6 separate regions of the Homo sapiens genome follow, and regions 2, 3, 4, 5 and 6 are each linked to region 1. Evidence: promoter capture Hi-C in 16 types of primary human blood cells and fetal thymus (Javierre and others, 2016). All regions are on one chromosome and are shown on one strand. The core of a region is centred on a gene start or on the middle of the fragment in contact, and the rest is flanking DNA. Distances in the headings are between cores, read along the strand shown.

Region 1 (4,185 bases), core at 661-3,160:
AGTACTCTTCCCCCATCCCTCACTCACTACACAACAGTACACTAAACTTGGATAGAGACTACAGGCACTTTCCCAGGGGCTGTATAAGGTTGCTCTCTCTGCCTGCAACATTCTTCTCCAGATATCTGCAAGGCTATCTCACCTCCTTCACGTTTACTCAATATCTTTTTCTTCATAAAGCCTACCCTGATCACACCCTATTTAAGATTATAACCCCCTTCTCTTCCCACCCCAAGAAACATCCTCTGGAACCCCTTAACGTGTTTTGCTTTTTTCTCTTCCTAATTTATCATGTCTGATTAGTGTCTATGTCCTCCTGCTAGAATGTAAGCTCTGAAAGAACAGAAATCTTTGCCTGTTCTCATCACTGATAAATCCCAAGTACTAGAGAAGTGCCTATCAAATCATGAACACTTCAATAAATACTTGCTGAATGAATGAAGTTTAAAAAAATCTGCTACAAATGCTTCTCAAACTTTAATGCACACTGAAGATCTTGTTAGAAATGCAGATTCTAAGTCTGGGTTGGAGGCCAAGATTCTGCATTTCGAAGAAACTTCCAGGCCATGCTGATACTGCTGGGTTCTGTGAGAAGCAAGGATCTACATCACCCCTACTATCATCCAATTATTATACTGTACATAATAAAACATAATTTTTAACAATTAACCAAAAAATTTTCAAGTATGACCAGTACACAACTGACTCAAATTTCTACAGCACGCAAAGGACCACTCTGGCTAGGAGACAAATGAAAGCAACTTAATTTCCAAGAACTGTAGGTCAGCCATATTAAACAGCAATGTGATAATAGACTTCCAGCCCCCCGAAATACATAATGATGTACTTAGATCAATTCAAAAATATGTGATAATGATATATCTGTATTAATGTAGACTATAAAATTATTATGAAAGTGAAATATCTACTTCTAAGACATAAAGCCCAACAAATCAAAAACACTTAAAAACAAGAAAATGAATTCACGGTATTAAGATGTTTTCAACTCTTACCTCGAGAGCTTTAAAAAAACATTTGGAATTGTCTGAAGACTTTAAAAACTTCACAAAAAACGGTTCTTTGTCATTTCTGGACATTTCTGAACTGTCAAAATAAAGGAACCATTAACAAGAACAAAACCACATTAGATAAAAAGTTGCATGTTTAACCTACCTATTTTTCTGTGCAGACAAGAATGCCTAAAGACAGACATTCTGGCTCTGCCCGTGAATTCGTCAACGGCATTTCTAAGAAATCCTGGAACTTGGACAAAGCCAAGGTAAAAGATGACAACACCAATCCTTGCAAATCAGACAGCAAAATTAACCCGAATTGAATACACTGAGGAAGGCCCTGCTATGAAGGCTCTAAGCCCTTTAGGCCAATGGACATTCAATTGCACTTGTTTTAAGGATACACAGAGTGTATCTGTCCCTGCGGATACCCACGGCCTGCGAGGTACGTTCATCCCTCAGTAAACAGATTTTAAATATAAACATGGAAGCCAGTTAGCATGGTCTTGGCCCTGCATAAGGCTAGATGCTCCGGTTCCCATCTCCAGGAAAAGGCCTGGCTCTGGGATCACGGAAGCCACGTCCTCTCGGCGTCAAAGGCCCACCCGCCGGCTCCAGGGCCAGTTACCAGGACAGGAAAAGAGGGTCCTGAAGGCCACAGAAGGCATCGCGAACCCCAGTTGGGGCTGGGGAGGAGCTGTGTCCCCACTCCGCGCCTCACTTACCTCGTTGGAGCCTCGGGGTCTCCGGGCGGCGAGTCGGGGGACGCGCTGGCCGCAGGGCGGTGGCTGGGGTCGGGCGCCAGCCCGGCGCACAGCCCCCTCCCCCGACTCGGCGCCGCCCCTACCCCAAAGCAAACGCTGGAGAACCCGGAAATTGCCCAGAACGGGAACCGACTTTCGCGCCAACCGCGCGGCCGCGCTTGCCTTTTCCGGTGGAAGTGACGCCATCGGCAGCTGCAGCAGAAGAGCGGAAATGTCAAACGTGGAGGTGAGCAGTCTGTGGGCGGTGGGGCTTCAGGGAAAGCTTGGGCCGGACCCTTTGGGTTTAGGGCTTTGCTGGGCGGGCCTAGTCTCCGCTGCGAGTAGGCCCAGCGCCGTCGGTTCAAGAGGTAGGACCACAGGCCAGGAATACTCCTTTACTGTTAAAAAAGCCAGGGAAAGAAAGGATTTCCTCAATAGATATTTATTTTACACCTGTCTTATACCAGGCATGCACGGGAAAAGGTATTATCCAAAACAATTCCGTGAGGCAAATAGTGGTAGTTCCATTTTGTAGATGTAAAAACGGAGGAAGTTAAATGATGGGTTCAAGGGCACACGGCTAGTAGGTGGTAGAATTAATACTGCATCCAGGTCTTCTGACTACGGACTGGGTGGTTTCCCTCCAACACAGCAGGAATAGAATCACCGCCTAACACAGCCACAAGATGGCAAGGGAAGAAAGGATGACTTATTACACAGCTAATGCAAAGGGATCTTTGTCAAGATCTTCAATGGTCTCCCCTCCTCCTCCCCTTCAGTGGACATCGCCGTTCTCTTTCTCTGCATCTGCCTCAGTACTGGGGAGATTCTGGGACTGAACCTAAGATTCAGATGGCAGAGAGCAAAGGGAGAGGGGATAAGATGGGCCTGCAAACCTTAGTGATAACCAGCGGAAAACTGATTCGTTGTTGCTTCTTTTCATTTTATTCTTTTTTAAAAAAATTTTTTCTTATTTTATAAAATCTAGCCACTATACTAATGAGGATCATTTTATTATTCACTGCTGAGATTGAGAAAATGACTTTGGATTTACTAATGTAAAAGTATAATGCCATGTCCCTTGATTGTTTTTGTTTTTCTTTTCTTTTTAGAGCCTAAAGATAGTAATGAGCAGCTTGAGTCTTAAGTTTTTGAATACACCGATGGAAGGTGACAAAGATTCTTTGCTTGGCCAAACTTTAGTCAGACTCCTCAACCTTCTCGTAGGTTTATCTGTGCATTTCCTTGGAAAATCCAGTTAGAACCCTCTACCCTCAATATCTGATCAGGTTCCTCATCCTCTACCATCCAAGGTGATGTCTGATCACCTTGACCTATTTTCAGCAAGAAACCCCTTTACTCCTGAAGTTCCTTCTTAGTAATTTTTTATCCAGTGACCCCAAGCTTTTTGTTCCTTGGCTATAAATTCCCACTTGCCCATGGTGTATTTAGAGTTGAGCCCACTCTCTCTCTCCTAATTCAGAATCCCATTGCCATGGTTGCTATACCTATCCTGATGGTCCGGAATAAAATCTGTCTTACTGTGCTTTAATAAATATCATTAATTTTTTTTTTTTTTTTTTTTTACCAGAAATGAGTCAGAATCAATTAACACTGGGGCTCAAAGGTAAAGGCCTATTGCTGGGGGAAGGGTGAAGAAAGCCTTAAAAGCAAAAAAACAAAAATCACTAGAGGTGGGAAAAAAAAGAAACCACAGTTAATTGTTAAGGTGCAAATCTGACCTGAATCTGTAATAACAATTAATATTTCTAGGGCACTTTACAGTTAACATGGGACTCCTGCTCACACTATTCCCGTTTACTCTTTTCAGCAACCCTATAATAGATGGGTATCATTGTCTCATGTTATGGAGATGGGGAAAGTGAAGTTCAGGGACTGTGTCACTTGCCCGTGCCTTTCCTGACACACCACACTGCTCCTGGGCACGTGCTGTCTGCCCATCTCTGTGTGAAGTTCCACACCGGGGAGGGAGCCCATTCCTGGCATTTCTGGGCCAAGTAGAGACCTCACAAGAGAAGGAGATTCATAGATGCTGCTAATGAAGATGAAGAAAATGCACCCTTTAGCTTTTACCCAGCCGGAACTTGATACCAGAGGAGTGACCTGTCTTTAGAGTAAGAGTTCACCACTAGGGGGCAAGTTCTCCCATCTTGTGTCTCCAGATAAGCAGAGAGGGTCTGTCTCTAGTATCTACTCCTGGAAAATGGATAAAGCAGTGGTTCTGATGTGTAGTGTCTGGACCAGCAGCATCGGCATCTCCTGGGAATTTTGGGGGAATGAAAATTCTTGGGCTCCACTTCAGACTTATTAAGTCAGGAGCACTTGGGGTAGGGCTAGCAATCTGTGCCCTTCAGGTGATTTTGGTACACATTAAAGTTTGCTTGAACAGCAGTCCTTCAGGAAAGGGT
Region 2 (4,848 bases), core at 714-3,213, 550 kb after region 1:
ATCTCTGAACAGGACCATACATGAAGGGTAGGTGCACAAAAGAAATCAGCACCGCCAGCAAGAACTGGGTTTGGAACCATGAGACCATGTGACTCTTAGGTAAATTTGTAACTTCTCTGAGTTTCCATATTTTGTAAAATAAGGGTAATACATGTTATGAGGATCAAATAAGATCATTAATGCAATACATACTGTTAGCCTGGCACAAGTCTCCTCTGACATCAGCAGCATCAGCAGTCATTCCAGAACAGCTACCTTATTGCCATGCTGCACTTCTCCATAATCATCAGCCCACTGCTGGCCCCAGGGATTCTGACACAAACCCTCCTGGGTCTGTCAAGAACACTGTTGCAGGCCTTCTGTTTTTTCCCCATTCTGAGAACCTCCCTATTCAGAACAGCCTCCTACACTCTCTGCCTCTTCACAAATGTCTTCCCACCTTCTCCCACAACCTGGCTTTCCTCAGAAGTCATCTGTTCCCCTTCCTATCATTCAGTTCCTACAACACCTGACCCTCAGGGCCTAGACAGTAGGGTCGGCACTCTTTAGGATCACTAGGTCCTTCCCAGACATCCCTTCCTCATGCCCTCATGCAAATCCCCTCTACTTTGAAGTTTATAACTTCTTTTTTTGAGACCGAGTCTCACTCTGTCACCCAGGCTGGAGTGCAGTGGCGTGATATCGGCTCGCTGCAACCTCCACCTCCTGGGTTCAAGCGATTCTCCTGCCTCAGCCTCCCGAGTAGCTGGTGGGACTACAGGCACACGCCACTATGCCCAGCTAATTTTTGTATTTTTAGTAGAGACGAGATTTCACCATGTTGGCCAGGATGGTCTCGAACTCCTGGCCCCAAGTGATCCACCTGTCTTGGCCTCCCACATTGCTGAGATTACAGGTGTGAGCCACCGCGCCCGGCCGAAGCTCACAGCTTCTACTCATAATGGCTACTTCTCATGCCATCAACACCAATAAGCCACACAGGACTTGCAGAGGCCTTGGTCTCCTGCCATGTTCTCCCTGGCTTCAATATTCAGTATTCAATATCCTGACACGCTAAAGAATTACTTCACTACCAAAACAAATGCAAAAATGCCATTCTATCAAAGATCCCATCACCACCTCTGATTCCTACAAAACTAGTTCTCTGATTCCATCACTCCAAGTCAGCCAACATTTATGAGGCACATTTATGAGCCAGGTGCTGTGTTCATAGCAGGATGCAGCAGCCAGTTAAAGCCACTTCCCTTCTCTCCAGTATAGCCGTGAACACCTAGTTTCATGTTCTCCACAGCCCAAGCCCTAAAGAAGGCAACATTACTGACAGTCATATTGGCACCTTCAGCTGGTTGACTCCTTCCAAACCCTCAAAGGGCAGCTCTAGCATCCTGACCACCCCTTCTTACTCTACTCCTGCTGCTCAGCACTGCTGAAGGAAATCCATCCTACAGAAAAGGAGCTCTTACACAACAATGACCTCCAGTCTCAGGGGAGGCCCTTAGTTCTACTCAGCAATCCCTTCCTCACTGACCCTCTTTTCCCTCGTCTTATTCCAACCTTACAGGCCTTCCCCACCTCCTCACACTCAATGTTTTTGTCCCTTTCCACTAGTACAGAGGAACCCCATTTCTGCCTTTCTTTTCAACACCCCGGCAGATCTATTAGAGCATCTATTCTTTTCATTCTAGTCCCAAGGAAAGGTCCATTTTCCTCTCCAAATGTAAATCCTTCAATCCTAGTACACTAGGGTTCTAGCCCATTTCACCACTGATGGGATATCTTAATCGTCAATTTCTCTCACTCTCTTTTACCTTCAATCCCTCTCAAGTGTCCAATTACCTACTAGGCAATTCTATCTAATTATCCTACAGCCTTCCAACTTAACAAATTCAAAGCCACACTTACTATTTCCCCAGAAACTTGCTGTCTCCTTTATTCTAGGTCTCAGTTATCACAAGGAGAGAAGGAGCAGACCAGAGACCAGAACCCCAAAGTAAGCAGAGAGGGCCTGGCAAAGGGGTCCAGGGCCATAACTGCAGTTAAAAAAGCAGCTAAGACTGGCGCCTGAGCATCTCAGTGTGGCAAGGTGAAAAGGAGGAGAGAAGGGAAGGAAATGAGGCTGTGAGTGTAGCTGGCCAATGAGGGCACAGGGAGAGGTGCAAAGGGCTGAGGAGGAGATTTGAGAAGGCAGCCCCTTTGGTCCTATCAGCAGCTTAGAGGAATATGAAGCATGAAACTGTGGAAGCCTCCTTGCTGGCTCCTTTTTTGAGGAACTGTCTAAAAATGGGAGGCATTCACAAGGTAGTTCTCTTTTCCCTCTGCAGTCTTTAAGATATAAATTTTAAAACTGCAGTTTCTGGGATTAGAGAAGAAATTGCCAATTATTGAAGTCCAATTTTCTCTAGTTTGGCATGTATCGATCTGTAAGGACTCTCACTTGCCAATCATCCTTTAAAGAAACAGATCTGCTCAAAAGTTAAATGTACAGTCTACTGGGACAAAGAAATTTGAACAGCAGTTGTTTATCAGAATGTAGAGTGAGCCAAAATACTTCAGAAAAGAAACTACAGGCTAGGCGTGGTGGCTCACACCTGTAATCCCAGCATTCTGGGAGGTCAATGCAGGTGGATCACTTGAGGCCAGGAGTTCAAGACCAGCCTGGCCAACACGGTAAAACCCCGTCTCTACTAAAAATACAAAAATTAGGTGGGCATGGTGGTGGGCACATGCTACTCGGCTACTCGGAGGCTAAGGCAGGAGAATCACTTGAACCTGGGGGGCGGAGGATGTAGTGAGCCAAGATCGCACCACTGCACGCCAGTGTGGGTGACAGAGTGAGACTCAGTCTCAAAAAAAAAAAGAAAAAGAAAAAGAAAATAAAAGGAAAGGAAAAAAAAAGAAACAAATTACCAAAAATATCAACATTTGAATAAACTGAAAAATAAACATTTTTGCTTATGTTCCCTTACTTGGAAACAAATGGCAATTACAAATAGGAAGCTGGTAAGTAAAGCCATTTCCTTCTGGAACACAGAGAGTACAGATTTAAAGTGAATACACTTGTCTACAGCCAAATAGCCTTTTAATTTCTCTGAACTTACTAGAAGTAATGCCTTTCTCATAGAAACCTCACTCTGCAAAGGACACAGCTGCTGGCCTCCAGCAGTGCCTGCTGGAACTCTGGACAAGTTCCCTGCAACTCCTAGAAAATGATGACGAATTCCTGAAAGCACAGAACAGCCATGGGGTAAGGGTGGGTAGTGGGAATATTCTGCTACATTCTGGCAAATTTTCGCTTTTCAGATATCTAAAATAGCTACTGACGGCCAGGCGCGGTGGCTCATGCCTGTAATGCCAGCACTTTGGGAGGCTGAGGCGGGTGGATCACGATGTGAGGAAATTGAGACCATCCTGGCTAACACAGTGAAACCCTGTCTCTACTAAAAATACAAAAAACTTAGCTGGGCATGGTAGCGGGCGCCTGTTGACCCAGCTATTCAGGAGGCTGAGGCAGGAGAATGGTGTGAACCCAGGAGGTGGAGGTTGCAGTGAGCAGAGAAAGCGCCACTGCACTCCAGCCTGGGCGACAGAGTGAGACTCTGTCTCAAAAAAAAAAAAAAAAAAAAAAAAAAAAAGCTACTGACACTTAACAGACACAGTTACATGTTTCTCCTGGATATTGGGGAATGTTCTGGAATACAGAAGAAACTATCTGTTAAAGCCTCTCAGTAGCCTGCTTTTAAGTGTGTGGTCTTGTGAAAAAGAAGCAATACCAGAGTTCTACTCCCAACTCAAAATGCAATTAACACAATGGTCTTTCCTGACCACTCACTAAGGCATGTGTGACCTATGCGCTAAGAGTAAGACAGCTTCAAGCCTCTGAAGAGACCACAATCTGTGTGGCAAGACAAAATGGCGAAAACACTGAGAAACAGTATTACCAGAAGCTGTGATATGTGAAACTAATGTTAAAGTATCTACGATGTTGAACCGACACATATCAGGGAGCCTGCAGATCTCTGGAAGCAAATATTTCATCTTCTGGCAAACCTTAAAAAGCAAGAACCGAGGGTTTCTGATAAAGTATTAGAGCTTGAGAGCCACGGCCCTCCTTCTGAAAGTTCATGATTACACCTCAGGGTTAAATGATCAGGTGACAAACCCTTCATCAAGCCTCCCCTGCCCTCACGTGTGACTTTCCCATTTCAGGTCATCTCTACCTTCTGCTTCCTCTAACCCTACTTCTCCTACCTTAAGCAAATCCCTTTCCAAATCTGGGTCTTAATTTCCTCACAGGAACTGATCAATAACCAAAGTACAACTATATAATAATAAGTAATACAGCCATTTGAAGGGGGAAAAAGTACAACTCTGTATCAAGTGACAGAGATCCTTGACCAGGATATTGTTCAGTGCTCTGCAAACTGCAGAAAAGTAGGTGGTATGTTAGCTGTTGAAAGATGTATATATACATATATGCATGGAAGCTTATATACACACGAACTATTTCCAAAGGAAAGACAATAATCAGGCAACAGTGGCTGACTCAGGCAAGGGGAACTAAGTGGCTGGATTGCTCAGGGATGGTACTAGAAGGTGCAAGGGACTTATTTTTCACTGTATACCCTTTATGCTTTTTAAATTTTTACTATGTGCATATATTATCTACTCATAAGATTAATTTTTAAAATAAATAAACGTAATCAACTGTGCTAAAATCACCAGAGATTATTACCTAGAATTGGGAACTGCAATAGTGGCTGAAGCCTGAAACTAGATTAACACAGACATATTTCCTTAGTTTTTTACTAAAAAAACATCGTAAGACGGTTACTTTCCTCTAAATTTTAT
Region 3 (4,699 bases), core at 1,970-4,469, 990 kb before region 1:
CCAGGGATAATAGAGATTATTGAGATTAGTGGCTCTCAAGTTTGAGTATGTTATCACAATTAGTTGGAAGCCTTATTAAAGCACAGATTAACAGATCCTACTCTGGTGGTTTTGATTTTTATAGGTGTCAGGTGGACTTCATAATTGACATTGCTAACAAGCTCCCAGGTGATCCTGATGCTGATGTTGCTAGGATTACACCAGTAAGAACCACTGGATCCTTGCTCTACTCCAAGTCTAGTCCCTGAAGTAGTAACATCAGTATCAGCTCTCAATACCTACCTCAGACATACTGAATCAGAATGTGTATTTTAACACAATCCCCAAATGATTCATTTGCATATTAAAGTTGGAGAAGTGCTCTTGCATCTCTAACAAGCTTCAGGTGATGCTAATGCAGCTAGACCACGCCATTTTGAGTAGCAAAGAGGTAGAACAGTAGTTATATATTGCTGTAGTTAGAATCACCTGGGAAGTTTTAAAAAATTCTGGTGTCCAGACTGCACCCCATAATAAGTGTCTCTGGGGATGAGGCACAAACATCTGTATTTTTAAAAATTCTCCAAGTGATTCCAGTGTGCCCTCAAGTTTGTAAACTGAGAATCTACACAGGTAAGTTTCAGGAAGTCTTTCTTTAATTTGTAAAACAGATAAATACGAAGTGAATTAATGAGGTTAAATAGGAAAGTAGAAGATGTTAGGAAACCCAGAGTCCATTTCTTATCCCTGAAAGCCTTTGGATCTCTTTAAAGTATCTGGGGTGCCTTGGATCACCAGATCTATATTCGCTGCTTTATTTTAGAGATGAAGATACAGGCCTAAAAAGTGAAAGTGATTTACCCACAATCAGAGCTAATTAGTGGCAGAGTTACAGCTCAGACCTTCTGTTCCCAAGTTTAATGTTTCCCGCAACTTATGTATAAACAAGCTATGAGGCAGAAACTCATTTAATACTTGGCCTGACCTAATAAATATTGATGAGCTTAAAGAAACTATGTTTTGGAGACTCTTACGTAGGATTAGAAAATTTTGGAGAGTGTGAGATCTTTTCTAGTATTAAGGGCTATCTAGGTGTTATGGGTTAGGTTAATTTTTTTTCTTTTTAGTTTTTTATTGAAAAGAAAATCCCATTTTTGTTTTTATTGTTTAGTGTGCTGAGAATTGTATTAAAGAGTCACAGAATTTCATATGAAGAAGGGACAGGAAGTCCTTGGCTCTAGCCTGTTCTTACTGATAAGAAATGTGATCTAATGGCCATTTTAGTGTGTGTGTGTGTGTGTGTGTGTGTGTGTGTGTGTGTGACAAATGCTTTTTGAAACAGGCTTAAGTGTATAGCAGGAAACAACAATTAACTGGTTTGTAATTCTATTTGGAATAATGTTTTAGCCATGTCACTGGTATATATTTTGTCATATACACAAAAGGAGTCAGGTTATACTATATTTTAAGTTACAGCACTTGTTTTCATCTTATTTAAAGATTTCATTTATCCAATGGATTCCTGGCTTTTAGCAAAAAAATGGAAATGAAGTAGGATTTTGCCACAGATTTAAAAAATGGAATGAAAGGGAATTAATCTTAATTTCTGAGTAAATTATTTAGAGAGGCAGCACAGCATTGTGGTTGAGGTGCAGATGCTGGATTGAGAATGCTTGAATTTGAATCCCATTTTCACTTCATATTAGATGAGTGGCCTTTGGACAAGTGTTGTAGTTGCCTCATTTTAAAAATAAGGATAATAGTACCTACATGCCTCACATGAGCATTCAATGAATTAATATATGGCACCTAGTGTTGTAGAGTTAGCTAATATTATTATCAAACTGCTAAACTAATTAAATGTAAAGCTCTCTAATTTATTTTTTGATATGTTTAGTTTTTTGGTATGTTTTTCATCAGAATACCACTATTTTCATTTTAGTTGCTACTCTTTGATTATGACAAGGTGGAACTAGCCAATATGAATAGACTTTTCTTCCAACCTCATCAAGCAGGATTAAGTAAAGTTCAAGCAGCAGAACATACTCTGAGGTAAATGGAATAGCAATCAAGTACCATATTCAGTGAAATCTTACTTTATGTATTTGATATGAGTTAATATAAATGAATCTTAATTTTTCTCTATAAAATGCAGTTTTCACTTGTACAAAGAATTCTCTTACCTGTTGGACATGGGTTGGCAAACTTTTTATGTATAGGTTAGATAATAAATATTTTAGTCTTTGAGGGCCAGATATTCTGTTGGAACTGTTAGTTGCAGTTTGATAGCAGCTGTAGGCAAAACAAACATGAATGAGCATGTCTGTGCTCCAAGAAAATTCTATTTTTGGACTCTGAAATTTGAATTTCATACAATTTTTAATTTTTTTAATTAAAAAATAAAATTTTTTTGAGACAGTCTCACTCTGTCACCCAGATTGGAGTGTAGTGACACAATCTCGGCTCACTGCACCTCCGCCTCCCGGGCTCAAGCTATCTTCGCATCTCAGCCTCCTGAGTAGCTAGGACTACAGGCACGTGCCACCATGCCTGGCTAATGTTTTGCATTTTTAGCAGAGATGGGGTTTTGCCACATTGCCCAGGCTGGTCTCAAACTCTTGGGACTCAAGCCATCTGCCCACCTAGCCCTCCCAAAGTGCTAGCATTGCAGGCATGAGTCACTGTTCCTGGCTGATAAAATTTTTATAGTCATAAATGTTCTTTTGATTTCTTTTCCCAACCACTTAAAAATGAAAAAAAATTCTTAGTCTGAAGGCTGCACAAAAACAGGTGGTGGGCCAGATTTGGCCCATGGGCCACAGTTCACCAATCCCTGCTTTAGGAATTTCCTTTGTGGCCCCAAATTTGTTAACTGAGTAAGGAAGTGAGGCTGAGTTGTAGGTAGTTACTGGACATGGTTAAGTCTTAATTCCCAACACTTAGATTGATTGGGGTGGGAACAGTTTTGTAATCTTTATGACAAAAATGAACCTAGTCCTTGAAGTGTGAGATAAAAGAGACAGAAAAGGACTTTGGGTTTTCTTTGAATAGCTTGAATTCGCTTCTCTAAGGTATGTTAAATGCCCTTTAGCTCTTTCATCTCTTTTCCTCACAGTTTTTTCTTACTACAGCTACTAGTAGTAGTCTTTTTAAAAACATTTTTTTAGAGACAGGGTCTCACTCTGTCCCCCAGGTTGGGGTGCAGTGGGTGCGATGATAGCTCGCTGTAGCCTTGAACTCCTGGACTCAAGTAATCCTCCCACCACAGCCTCTTGAAATGCTAGGATTACAGGCTTATAATCATTCCCTTTTTCCTTCTTAGGAACATTAATCCTGATGTTCTTTTTGAAGTACACAACTATAATATAACCACAGTGGAAAACTTTCAACATTTCATGGATAGAATAAGGTAAAATTTTAATTTATGAATATTTTGTATAATGTCCAGCTCAAGTATTAGAAAATTATTAGAAAAATCTATGGATTAATCCAATGAATGGAAGATTGATATATATTTTTCCATTTTTTTAGTACAGCAATTTTTGTGTAATTTTTATGTATTAGAATATCATTTAAAGGTATATATTGTCCAAAAACAATTAAAAATAAAAAGCAAACAAGCAAAAAACCCCTGTAAGTTACAATATAAGAAGAGAATGTCAACTTTAAGTTCTGTGTTCTAGATTATATTTCTGTCTGAAAATGGTTTTCTTCAGAGACTGTCAGACCACCACTGAAATAATGAGTTGCATTCAATTAGCTTTTATTACATTTGTAATGAAGCATGAATAAAAATGTGAAAGCTGGTAGTGAAAAAATAACTGTTGTGAACATACTTTATACTTCCTTCACCCTTGTAGTTCTTGTAAAATAAGTAATACTACAATGATACTGTAGTATCATTGATGTTATATTCATAAGTTACTCAATACTTGATATATATGATATCTTTAATATTACATATTTATTATGTAATAATTATAGTCAAACATTTAATGAAAGAATAAGTGTTGGACTGAACAAGTAAGTATAATGTATTAGAGTGTATTTTGTGTCCTGATGTTTTTCAAACTTATTTTCTTTGACTAGTAATGGTGGGTTAGAAGAAGGAAAACCTGTTGATCTAGTTCTTAGCTGTGTGGACAATTTTGAAGCTCGAATGACAATAAATACAGTGAGTATTCCTGCTGTGCAAGATATATTCATGGATTTATCTGTTTTCCTGTATATTCTATCAGTATATAATCCCCATCCTAAAAACAGTTCTGAATGTAAACCCTTTTCTGTGTTTTATTTGTAATGTTCTCTTAGCCTACTCTTAAAATCTATTCTAATAGCTGTGGGACCTAGACTGTCTAGCCTTGCTGCTGTGACATGTGTTACAGTATCCTACTCTTTTTGCTGGTAAACTATAAAACAGCAAATACCTCTGATGTATAATTCTTAAATTAGTATCTTATAATCTTGGTCAGCATTAGTTTTAGCTTTTGTTATTTTATAAATGTATAAATATGTATAAATTGCCTGAAAACCTGGTTTCTCAAAAAAAAATTATTTTCCTTTTGAATATTGTTTTTAACTTTTCAGATGATATTTTGGCATTTTTTTTGTTCCTGCAATGATTTTAGAAAAGTGAAATTTCACATTAATTTGACAAGAAATCCAATAAACTTTGATTCAATTTAATAATATTTACTGACTGCGTCTTGAATACTGTCAC
Region 4 (3,956 bases), core at 1,301-3,800, 960 kb before region 1:
ACGAGCAGAGAGTTTTTCCAGCCAACGTGGAAATTCTTCCAGAAGCTTAGCAGGATCCAGTGTCAGAGCAGAGACTGACCAAGAGTGCTGCATCAACTACAAGATAAGAACACACACAAACTGAAGTAGTTACACGTAGTTACTGAAGTAGTTACAGAGCTGGGGGAAATATTTCTATTCTTACTTTTTTATAAACCAAAATCAAGTCACCAAGAGGACCCGATTGTATCGAATATTATTTTTAACCTTATATAAAACCAAAACAGGTGGATAATACTGAAAATTGGTTTACCAGTAGGTACTTATTAGTCCCAACAATTTCTGAATCTAAATAAAATTCTGTAATTCCAAAAGATGGGATACTATACCTTTAGAGTTAGTCGTTTAATAATCAAGGAGGACTCTGAGCTGGTTGACATGGGCCTTCCCACAAAATGGGAAAGAATCAGTGTGTTGGGGGAATTCTTCTGTTGTAATTGAATCCTGAAAGAAAAAGACAGAACTTTTATAAAACCGATAAAGTTCCTTGACTGTCAATAAAAAAAGAATTCACAATGCAGTAAACATCAAATGTTGCCTAACTGAGCAATCAGGTGGTCAGTTACTTTTAAATAAATATGGAGATTTCTGTTTTTACTCCACTTTTAGATCCTTCTAAATAATCTTTTAAAAAATTGTAGATTCATTTTAATTACAAATAGATGTTAATTAACAGAAACCAAAGTACTTTACATATGAGGGTAAGGTATTAGTAAAACAAGCATTAACTTTTAATTAAAAATTCCTACTAGAGGAAAATTTGTTAGATACAAAAATATTATTTTCCAAACATAACTTTAAATAAAAGGGTAATAAAAAGGAGACAACTACATATGCTAACCCTTCAATATAAATAATTATGAAAGAAAGAAAATATTTTTACTGCTTGTTTTTAAATAACATAATGAAATAATAAAGTTTATTAGCTTATATGAACCTTAGTCCATAATTTGAAGAACTAGATTGCATTCATGGTGAAGATTATCCTTAATTTTGATGTTCTGTAGAATGTATTTCACTCTAACTAGTATGCTTTTGTCGTTTCAAATATTTAAAGTATCAATGAAACTTTTAAATAAAGGCAATAATTACAAATAAAGGCACATTACAATCCACTTAATAACATGTGTTATATGACATATCACATATGATCACTTCCTTACAAAGCACTCCCATAGCTGTTACTTATGTGATTTATATACATAATCATAAATGTTCATGCTTCCTATTCCTTTCTCATTCTGTGTCTTCTCTCTAACATCCAAATTCTATGCATTTCAGGGCATGAACCTATTGTTTTATTCCTTTTTACTTTGTTAATGTTTAGTGTAGGCCGCGCAGGAAGGCAGGCATGCAATACATTTTGTTGAATAGATTCAGTAATTCAAACAATGACAACAATAATTTAATTGCACTGCATCATACCACTTTGATAAAAGAAGAGACTTCCCAGAACCTGGTCCTCCAGACACGAGAAGAGGTGGAATCGGGGCTGGTGCTGCCACTAGATCATTAAGGCGTTGGTAATACTAGAAAAAAAAATGAATTTACATTGTAAGGAAGCACATGCCTCTGAGACTACTGAAGAGTCAACTTCTGATTATTCTTTGAAAATACTGGAGAAAAGCTGTGTGAGAAAATGAAATCTATTTTTAGTGACAGCACCCTCATAATTGCCTACTTTTATGGCTGGCAAAAACATGACTGAACTAGTAAACTAAGAATGGGCCTCAAATGGCTGGGCGCGGTGGCTCACGCCTGTAATCCCAGCACTTTGGGAGGCTGAGGCGGGTGGATCATGAGGTCAGGAGATCGAGAACATCCTGGCTAACACGGTGAAATCCTGTCTCTACTAAAAATACAAAAACAAAATTAGCCGAGCGTGGTGGCGGGCGCCTGTAGTCCCAGCTACTCAGGAGGCTGAGGCAAGAGAATGGCGTGAACCCGGGAGGTGGAGCTTGCAGTGAGCCGAGACAGTGCCACCGCACTCCAGCCTGGGCGACAGAGCAAGACTCCGTCTCAAAACAAACAAACAAACAAACAAACAAAAAATGGGCCCCAATTTCTTCTACATGTAGTATTGCTGTAAATTAATGGGTAAAGGACAACATTTCAGGTCCCTGTGGGGTTTTGCAACACTCAAATGTTTGCAGAATGTTTCAGGGAGCTCACTGTAGCCCCCAAATCACAGAAAATACTGCAGAAGACCTTGAAGGTACTAGCAGACCACCTAGATCTCCTGGTCAGAGGAATAAACACCTGTCCTGGGAATCACCTCAGTTTCTGGGGGTGAGAAAAGGTCCAAATAACAGCAGGTTTTGTCTGGGGACTTGGAGTCTCCCAATCTGCTCAAGACAATCAGGTTAGCCTAGGCTGCCTGAGATCTTTTTGAAACTAAGTGAGTTCAGTGTAAAGTCCAAGAATTCCTATTTCCCAAGTTTTCCCCAGAAACTCAAAACTGGTTCAAAGCTAAAAAGGACACACTCAAAAACCAAAATATCTTAGTACTTATTAAGGAGTTTCAAAAATTATCTTGAGACTTGACTTTTTCTTCAGTGTACCAGTGGTCTAAATGATAGCTGATGAGGAATTTAAAAAAGTGTATAGTAAGTAGTTTGCAGCCAGCTTTAGGCTTGCTTTAGAATAACACAATTCTCCAGCAACTATAATGAATTACTTGGTATAGTTTTTCAATCAATTTTTCTACTTGTTATATTTAATTAACAAGCAGAAAAATTATATCTCTAAAGAATATATTCCCCAGGAACTCAAATAATTCAAATAGAAATGATACTTCTGAAGGAGAAAAGAAAGTCTTGATTTACTACCTCATAAGTCCTAACAACTTAGTTCATGGTCCCACAGAAAGCCCATTTATAGGATCCATGCTTCCCAGGTTAAGACCCATGGCTATAAAAGAAAAACCATAGGATCTGGAGCCAGAAAAGAACGAGGTTCAACTCCCAGATCTGCAATCTACTCACTGTGTACTCTTAGGCAAACCCTAATCTGAACCTCAGTTTCTTTATTTATAAAATAACAATAGCAATACTTCTCATAAAATAACGACTAACATTTATCATGGGCCAGGTACTGTGCTAAGCACTTTATGTGCATTATCTGATTTAATCCTTGCAACAAGTACCTATGAGGTAGGTACTATTAGTTATTCTCATTTTACAGCCAAGAAAGTCAAAGTTTAGAGTGGCCAAGTAACTTGAAGAAATCTAGTTAGTAAATGATGGAACCAGGACATTAACGGACAGTCTAAATTCAAAAAGTTCTGTAAAAATACAACTGTTAATATTAGCTACTATAGTATTCTTTAAAATATTAGTTCTTACATTAATTTTTAACTATTATATTTTTTTAACTTGCACATAGATTTCATTGTATATTTCAAGTTCTGATAATTTGTTTAGATATTTAAGGATGTTGATAAGACTGATAAAGAAGGACTTATCTGCCTATTTCATGAACTACTATGCTTTGTTTTCTGAATGTAATATTTTGATTCAAGAATTGGAAGAACAGAGAGACTTACTATTCTTTTTTTTCTTTTCTTTCTTTCTTTCTTTTTTTTTTTTTTTTTAAAGACAGGGTCTTGCTCTGTTACCCAGGCTGGAGGGCAGGGGTGTGGTCATGGCTCACTGCAGCCCTGACCTCCTGTGCTCAATTGATCCTCCCACCTCAGCCTCCCAAGTAGCTGGGATTACAGGTGCATACCACCATGCCTGGTAAACTTTTGTATTTTTTGTAAAAACAAGGTTTTGCCATGTTGCTCAGGCTAGTTTCAAACTCCTGGGCTTAAAGCAATCTGCTTGTCTCAGCCTCCCAAAGTGTTGAGATTACATGCGTGAGCCACTGCACCTGGCCTCAGCCTTACTATCCTTATCAAGTTTCCTAGCTATCCTAAT
Region 5 (3,153 bases), core at 70-2,569, 980 kb before region 1:
TGTGGATGATTGCCTCAATTCTCCACTTCTGAAAGAAAAACTGATAGATATTTTCCAAAACAAACTTTTATACTTTAAAAATTATTAGACCTAGGTCCAATAAAAGATTTTTGTATTCACTCTTCCTCCCTTTGGAGTTAGTACTAAATAATTTTTATTTCTTTATTTTGTTTTTTTGTATGTGTGCGTGTGTGTAACCTTGAACTCCTAGGCTCAAGTGATCCTCCCACCTTAGCCTCTCAAGTAGCTGGGTCTACAGGTGTGTACCACCATGTCTGGCTAATTTATTAATTTTTTTTGTAGAGACAGGGTCTCACTATGTTGCCCAGGCTGGTCTTGAATTCCTGGCTTCAAGTGATCCTAATGCCTCAGCCTCCTAAAGCTCTGGGATTACAGGCATGAGCTATCATGCCCAGCCAGTACTAAATAATTTTTAACAAAAGAATAAATCATTATTTTTTATATAAGTTTCTGTAAGTGGGCTACAGATTTATTATACTTTTCTGACATCCAAAGTTTCAAATTTGTTATATTTTTCTGATATATGAAGTCCAAAAATACTTTTTATAACATATAAATATAAATGTCATTTTGAATCCTTTTGCCCAAATAAACTGACAAAACTAGAAACCGTCTACATTATTTACCATTAGTCCCAAGCTGCTGCTTCTGTGAGATCTTATGCACAATATCTACACAAACTCACTTTTCATAAATATATAAAATACACCAGGGAAGCTACAGAATAACTTTTCAGTTAAGAAACAATGTGGGCCAGGCGTGGTGGCTCACGCCTGTAATCCTAGCACTTTGGGAAGCCAAGGCGGGCAGATCACGAGGTCAGGAGATCGAGACCATCCTGGCTAACACAGTGAAACCCTGTCTCTACTAAAAATGCAAAAAATTAGTCGGGCGTGGTGGCATGCGCCTGTAGTCCCAGTTACTCAGGAGGCTGAGGCAGGAGAATAGCTTGAATGGGAGGTGGAGGTTGCAGTGAGCCGAGATCACACCACTGCACTCCAGCCTGGGCAACAGAGCGAGACTCCGTCTCAAAAAAAAAAAAAAGAGTGTGAAAAGAAACACAGTAGAGAAAATGCCATGGTCTTTAGGTATGTGTATGCTCATTATATAACATCATACATGAAATTTTGCGTGGTTTTTATCATTTTTTTTCTAGCTTTAGACTTGACAAAAATGTAAAACAGCATTGCATCAAAGAGAAAATGGTTAATTATTTTCATTATTAACCCCATGGTACTCACTCCAGGTTATTTTGAAGATAGTAGAGAACACCCAGTTCATTGAGGGTCCGAGCATTATCAGGTGTGTCCTTACCTAATGTAAGCTCTTCTAACTGTAAAGCCCGTCTACGTAAAAGGGCAAATCCGTACTGCAGCAAACATGAAAAATGAAAAGCAATCACTAAGTAGGTGCAATCCTTGATTCTGAAACAATATATGAGGGTCCTAAAAAATCTTCCTTTTTTCCCATTTAATCTAGATAACTATTATTTTAAGCATCACACTAAATTAACTTGATGATTACAAATACAAATATTTCCACATGGCAACACATTCTAAAATTCATTAAAAACTATTTCATGAAAATGATTATATTTTAGAAAGTAAACTATATCTCAAAGTGCTTCAAGAAATAATAGAATATAATTAATTTGCAGATATTTATCAACCCCATAGGTAAACACATAAACATCAGGTCCATAAAAATGCACACAGCATTTTAAATTAAAGAAATATGCTACATTTAGATTTTATCAGCAACTTAAAAAAATTAAAATAACTTTTATTGTGTATTTGAGGGGAAGGCTTTCTTCACATTTGAACATAACACAAAATGTTAACTAAATTTATTTTATTCCTTTTTCCAACCCTTTAAAGAACTGAGGTAGCTTTAAATTCCGTCTTTCAAAATCTAACCTTCAAATGAATTTAGAGTTCCACTTTTTAAAGTCTAAATTGTACTTCTCAGTAATATGATATTTTAACACATAAATAAGAAAATGTTAAGTAGTTCTCTTCTAAAAAACTAGAAGATTTTAAAATCTAAAGCTCTTAAACATGTGGGGTGTATGCATTTATGATGCTCTTTTCCTCTTACGTTCAAAACACAACACAAAAGAAATCTCTCCTTACCAAGTTGCCTTTTTTCTTTATAGCTTTCTGATGAATTTTAAAGGATTTTTTCCTAAAATGTTCAGCTTGTTCATATCTTAAAAAAAAATTACAGTAAGTCAAACAAAAGAAACATATTCAAAGTATACTTCAGTGAAATGAAAGCACTCTTTTCATAGTGTAAAGTCTTTTTGGGCTATTAAATACAGCATTTTTTCTAGAAATGATAGTCATGACATTAAGAATCTCTAAAAACCCTTTCATAAAACAAAATATGACAAAACACTAAGATATCTTAGTCTATCATGGATGTTTTTCTAATAAAAAGTTCTGTTCAATTAAAAAAATTTTGACAAAACAAAGCAAGTCTAGTCCTTTAAGTAGCTGACATCTGATCATCTTTAACTAATTTAACTCATCCTAAGTCTCTGAAGGGCAACCTAACTAAATGAAAAGTCAAAATTTCAGTTTTCTATAGCACACTAATAATTTTTAATTAACAACTTTTTCTGCACAGGCTAATTTCTGGTCAAGTTTAAATGTGAAATTCACACAAAATTTGTACGAAGCAATACTTCTATAAGTTAAAAAATTCCATTATGTATCACTTATGATAGAGCAAAAGAAATAATTTTTAATAGAGGAAGAGATGCCATTCATTGGGTGCCTGATAGATAAGAAAGACTTTTTATTATACCAGAGATTGGCTTTTTCTATAACGGGCTAGAGAGTTAATATTTTAGGCTTTGTGGGCCGTGTGCTTTCTGTTCCAAGTGAGGAACTCCGCCACTGAAGCACAGAAGCAACCATGGATAATATATACATGAAAAAAATTTGGCTGTGTTCCCTTTAAACCTTATTTACACAACTGGACTTGGCCTATGGGCAATGGTTTGCTGGCCCCATAAAGGTTGAACATCCCTAATCTGAAAACCCAAATTCTGAAATGCTCCAAAATCAGAAGCTTTTTGAGTGCTGTCATGATGCCACAAGTGGAAAATTCTGCACCTGACCTCAAGTG
Region 6 (4,646 bases), core at 1,647-4,146, 520 kb after region 1:
AATGGCTCTAGAAAGTCTGTTTCCATTCCTAAGAGGAAGATCTAGGACAAGTACCCTCAGTTATCAGGAAAACACCTAAGATGGCATTACAAAGGGTTTGAGTTGATTATGAATAAGTACACAACGAGAATATAAGGAAAACTTCAGCATCAGCACAGTGTAAGCCTCAAGGCAGGAACATAAGCCAACATTTTCCTTTAAGCCAACAGGTTATAAATATCTTGTGGTTCATTTTGAGGTTCTTTTTTGCAGGCCTCTAAACAGTTTATATTTAAGAATGTTAATATCTACTTTCAAAGACATTATCAGAAACTACTGGTAAATAATTGGTATTTGGGCAAATTTTTCTCACCTGTGGATTATTGGCCTCTACTAACTTGCACTGTCGTAAAAACAATTTAAGATTCCCCCAATTCATGTAAGGCAATATCACCATGGGCTTTTCTCCTTCTTCTATACACACATGAGTAATAGGAAGAAGATTTCTATAAAATAATAAAAAATTGGGAGAAAGACAAAGGAATCCAAAATGTTAGGGGCTTACTTCTAATAAAAATAATCTAAAACAAAACAAAATCCCCAAAATACTTAAAAACATGATTACCATTAAAAATGTAAAATTATAAGTGTTCTGTATTTTAAACCAGACTTAAGTGTCCCCTATATATGTGCATATATCCCCATATATGCACATTCTTGGTAGGGAAAAATCATAAACTCAAAGTTGCTTCCTGTGGGCTGGATTCTCTGAAGGCACACTCTAACCACACTATATCTTTACTCCAAAGGGCAATTAATCAGAGACATCTAAAAACTGACTTGCCCATGAGTGTATTATGATAACAATATCCCACTTACTCCATTATCACACATGAAAAAAAAAAAAGGCCCAATCCAGACGGTGGTCAAGAATATGATCATCAAAAAAGGTCTCTAAAAGGCTGAAACTGCCACAAAAGCCAAAAAGTTCTTAGCTGGTCACACTGGATTTAGAATCAGATTTTTGAATCCTAGATTTACCAATTACTATCAGAGTGACCATCTTCTCTTGGCTTTGGTTTCCATTCTTATAACATAGGGACCCCACCAACCATAAAAGGTTGCTGTGATGTGCAAAATAAAACCAAGCATGTAGTGGACAATCCCGTTCCTATTTTAATTTCTATGGCATACATACATACATTTCATCCTACTGTCTAATAACACCTCCTCCACTGACATCTGGAAATAACTGCTAATTTTTCCCAAGGTTATGTAACTTTTTACATAATTATATCATCTTCCCCACTAAGCTAAAAATTGCTAGAAGACAAAAACTAAGGTAAACTCAATTTTTATACCCAACACTTCGTAATCTATGCTATATAAAACAAACATTTAATAACAAATAACAGTAACAAATAGCCTTAAAACATTCCTACTCCTTAACTTGGCAAATCCTGCTTCTAAGGATGTTTAATAAGGAAAGAATAACAGGATAATAAGTCACAATTGGTCACAATATGAGAATATAAGTAAAAGCTTATCTTACAAGAAAGTAAGATAAAAAATTCCCATTTGCAAGATAATTATAAAAATGGAGAAAAATAATAAAGGTCTGCATGGAAATATGCAAAGAGTTAAGAGTTGTCTTTAAGTTGTAAGACTATAGATAATTTCAGCTTTGTTTTCTGTATTTCCTAAAAATTGTCTTAATTGAGCATGTATCACTTTTTAAACCCCAGTTATAAAACCGTGGCACAATCACCAATGCACAAGTGGCAAAGCTGTGCGCTCCCCTCATATTTGCAGGAGTTACTAACATGGAAAGCACTGACCCTGAGGAGGTGGGAAAATGAGGACTTAAAGATCAGTAAACCTCTAAGAGGCAACCTCTCTATAACCGCTCAAGTGGCAGCGATTAGGAGTTCCACTTTATATGCAAGGAAATCCACGCTGGGAGAGAAAGTTTAGGTAACCTGCCAAGGACAAAGAGCAAGTACACGGAGAAAAATATCAGATCTTCATCTGATTCAATACCCTTTGCATTCCCCTGGACCACTAGACTTTCTCTCCAGAGGAGCAAGGGAGATCACATGGGAGATTACAGAGCTTCCTTTCCACCAACTCCCATGAATACTAAAATGACTACAGGTTTACACTAAGGATTAACTTGGGCATACCATTAAACACTGTTGCCCAATCTATTTAACTCACCAAAGATTACTTCTGTTTCTTTCTTTGTGACTGAAATTCATTTAGCAGAGTTAAAGACATTTTATCCATTAGGTTTGCTGGGTGAAGTCAAATCTTTTATTCCACTACCACAGGATTAAAAATCCACTGGTAGAGCTAACAAACTTCATGAAAATGTTTCAAAGTACAAATGGCTGTTTTTCATTCTGCCCATCTTGTAATGAAAAGGAGGATGAAGGGGAAGGTCTGGATCTCTAAGAAGAGTGAATGAAAGCAGGAGATGCTATAGTGAAGAAAGAAGGTACAGGAAGGGTAGGTTCTGTGGGGCTTGGCACAAGAACTGCCTCTAATTCTCAGTCTTGTTGAGGGCGTTTGCAGAGGGAGAGCTGTGAGCCATTTGGCATAAGAAGTGTTCACCATCAGGCATCTTTGGGCCAATGAAGGGGCCAAACTACAAGCAGAAATAGCGCAAGAGTACTTTGATGTGAAGCACTTCTAATGAAATTAAAATAGGTTAATATCTTTTATGTATACAGCTATTTTAACTTTTAATAAAATTATTTTCATAAATTCCAGTGGAAAAATGTGTGAAAAGAAAGGATTTCAAAATGCTTTAAAACACTTCAATACGCGTACAATCCGTAACCATGGATGTTAAAACATGAAGCAAACATGCTGTATTACATACCACAAGGTAAAATCTAAAAACAGGTGTCTTTTCTTGCTGAATAAATTCTATATTCTGTTGCTTGATAAATTCTATAATACGATCTCTGAAGATCATTTCATTTTCATTCTGCCTAACACAGTTCCAAGTGCAAAATGGGTACTGAATGAATTAGAATAAAAGAATGAACAAACAAATACATAAGTATAGCTATGAACAGTCTATACATATTAAGGATCAAAACAAAATGTGTGATAGGCCCTGGTCACCTTAAAAATGAAATGAACTGCTACAATGAATGGAAAGAATAATATACTTTCTACATGCTGACAATGTGTTTTATTCATTGTAACTAGGACTCCTGCTATCACCTCATAGAAGGAAGAACAATTAAGCATAATCAAGCTATAACCTACCTTTACAAGACTTTCCTCAAGGACTGAATGCTCAGTATCAAATAACCCCAATTTAGTATGTAATGTCATTCAATTCCCTAAGGACCTCCTGAGACTGCTAATTCATCCTGATGGGATGCTGCAAAACCTTACAATCTAAAACTGCATGAGACACAACACTGCAAATGCTTGCTCTGAGCATTTTTCAGCCAAGACATCTTTAAGGCTACAGTGAATATAAAACCGTTTCTTGGGAAAATCCTGGCTTTGTCTACATTTATCCCTGCTACTCACTTCTGTGCTGAAGTGATGCAAACCTTTCACTGGGGTAAGAACATTGGCTAGGTATCTAAGTAATAGGTTAACATTATATACTAGGATTAAACACCTTTGGCCCTTCTCCCTAGAGTCAGTGTAATAGACCATTAAGCACTTTCAACACTGCCAAAAAGGACAATATTCCAACTGTTTCTTTCCCTTCTGCTACTGAGATTATCAACTTTTAGTGTTTCCTTCACCCTTGGTTGCCGAGAAGCTAGGAGGTGTTTTATGTTCAGTCACAGTAAAAATATTTGTTCTCCTTACTGCTGGCTCATTTGTTTTCTTTTTTACCACCACAATGCCAAAAAACTCAGTTTCTTTTTCATTACCATTTTATTTATCTTACTGTGGCTGCCTTCTTTTTAGGTCCTCAAATCCTTCTGAATATGAACCAAAATATAACTAAATTTAAAAGTAAGGCTCTGGGTAGTCACCTTATTTTTCAGCAGAACTCAAGGAACTGTCTAAAGTATACAGAAACTATATTTTTTCAGAAGCCTATAAACATCTTCCAACAGAGATAACCACAGTTCTTTTTTTAAACATATGTGATCAAATTTTCAGTAGACATACAAATTATGTTGACTCTATATAGTGCTTTAAAAAAATTTGCTCTAATGTTGATACTGTCACACATTATGATGTTACATTTAAGCTGCTTCTGGCTCAAAAGGTAGAAGTTTTTGTTACAGTTCTGTGAACAGGACCAATACCAAGCTTTTAAAAAAGGTCTTCATGGCCGGGCACAGTGGCTCATGCCTGTAATCCCAGCACTTTGGGAGGCCGAGGTGGGCAGATCATGAGGTCAGGAGATCGAGACCATCGTGGCTAACACGGTGAAACCCTGTCTCTACTAAAAATAGAAAAAATTAGCCAGGCGTGCCTATAGTCCCAGCTACTCAGGAGGCTGAGGTAGGAGAATGGCGTGAACCAGGGAGGCAGAGCTTGCAGTGAGCCAAGATCACACCACTGCACTCTAGCCTGGGTGACAGAGCGAGACTCTGTCTCCAAAAAAAAAAAAAAGGTCTTCATATAGAACTATAAGTAGTTTTTAAAAATCATGCTATGGCATAATGATTGTATACCAG

Evidence for each region. The method cuts DNA at HindIII sites, captures the fragments that hold promoters and counts their contacts. A CHiCAGO score of 5 or more calls a contact.
Region 2: a contact is called between a fragment that was not itself captured here and the fragment with the promoter of TOPBP1 in region 1, in 1 of 17 cell types (megakaryocytes). The highest score is 5.5, in megakaryocytes.
Region 3: a contact is called between a fragment that was not itself captured here and the fragment with the promoter of TOPBP1 in region 1, in 9 of 17 cell types (neutrophils, naive CD8 T cells, naive CD4 T cells and 6 more). The highest score is 7.7, in neutrophils.
Region 4: a contact is called between a fragment that was not itself captured here and the fragment with the promoter of TOPBP1 in region 1, in 12 of 17 cell types (neutrophils, monocytes, naive CD8 T cells and 9 more). The highest score is 11.7, in neutrophils.
Region 5: a contact is called between a fragment that was not itself captured here and the fragment with the promoter of TOPBP1 in region 1, in 15 of 17 cell types (neutrophils, M2 macrophages, monocytes and 12 more). The highest score is 13.3, in neutrophils.
Region 6: a contact is called between a fragment that was not itself captured here and the fragment with the promoter of TOPBP1 in region 1, in 1 of 17 cell types (M2 macrophages). The highest score is 5.2, in M2 macrophages.

The regions. Positions count from the first base shown.
Region 1 is chr3:133,660,031-133,664,215 of GRCh38, forward strand. It overlaps TOPBP1 (DNA topoisomerase II binding protein 1), which reads right to left and starts at 1,911. Exons shown (of 28, transcript NM_007027.4): 1 at 1,739-1,911; 2 at 1,014-1,104. The coding sequence starts at 1,097. It overlaps LOC124909487, which reads left to right and starts at 1,196. Exons shown (of 3, transcript XM_047449438.1): 1 at 1,196-1,316; 2 at 1,483-2,003; 3 at 2,869-3,308. The coding sequence starts at 1,196. The coding sequence ends at 3,018. It also overlaps a transcript of TF not described here. RefSeq lists a silencer at 1,698-1,867 and an enhancer at 2,268-2,337. The HindIII fragment of the contact is 9,162 bases long and covers 1-2,037 here.
Region 2 is chr3:134,213,190-134,218,037 of GRCh38, forward strand. All of the region lies in intron 2 of RYK (receptor like tyrosine kinase), which reads right to left. Among named protein-coding and RNA genes, the nearest start is that of RYK, 35 kb to the right of the region's middle. The HindIII fragment of the contact is 5,038 bases long and covers 1-4,482 here.
Region 3 is chr3:132,666,897-132,671,595 of GRCh38, forward strand. UBA5 (ubiquitin like modifier activating enzyme 5) reads left to right here. Exons shown (of 12, transcript NM_024818.6): 4 at 1,922-2,031; 5 at 3,302-3,388; 6 at 4,069-4,153. The region is part of intron 26 of NPHP3-ACAD11 (NPHP3-ACAD11 readthrough (NMD candidate)); the gene reads right to left. Among named protein-coding and RNA genes, the nearest start is that of UBA5, 8.9 kb to the left of the region's middle. The HindIII fragment of the contact is 5,684 bases long and covers 378-4,699 here.
Region 4 is chr3:132,699,966-132,703,921 of GRCh38, forward strand. It overlaps NPHP3 (nephrocystin 3), which reads right to left. Exons shown (of 27, transcript NM_153240.5): 10 at 1,465-1,568; 11 at 369-483; 12 at 1-96. It overlaps NPHP3-ACAD11 (NPHP3-ACAD11 readthrough (NMD candidate)), which reads right to left. Exons shown (of 45, transcript NR_037804.1): 10 at 1,465-1,568; 11 at 369-483; 12 at 1-96. Among named protein-coding and RNA genes, the nearest start is that of NPHP3-AS1, 20 kb to the right of the region's middle. The HindIII fragment of the contact is 5,015 bases long and covers 44-3,956 here.
Region 5 is chr3:132,684,998-132,688,150 of GRCh38, forward strand. It overlaps NPHP3 (nephrocystin 3), which reads right to left. Exons shown (of 27, transcript NM_153240.5): 22 at 2,154-2,229; 23 at 1,263-1,390. NPHP3-ACAD11 (NPHP3-ACAD11 readthrough (NMD candidate)) reads right to left here. Exons shown (of 45, transcript NR_037804.1): 21 at 2,154-2,229; 22 at 1,263-1,390. Among named protein-coding and RNA genes, the nearest start is that of UBA5, 26 kb to the left of the region's middle. The HindIII fragment of the contact is 3,549 bases long and covers 1-3,094 here.
Region 6 is chr3:134,177,589-134,182,234 of GRCh38, forward strand. RYK (receptor like tyrosine kinase) reads right to left here. Exons shown (of 15, transcript NM_002958.4): 11 at 353-485. Among named protein-coding and RNA genes, the nearest start is that of RYK, 71 kb to the right of the region's middle. The HindIII fragment of the contact is 2,754 bases long and covers 1,520-4,273 here.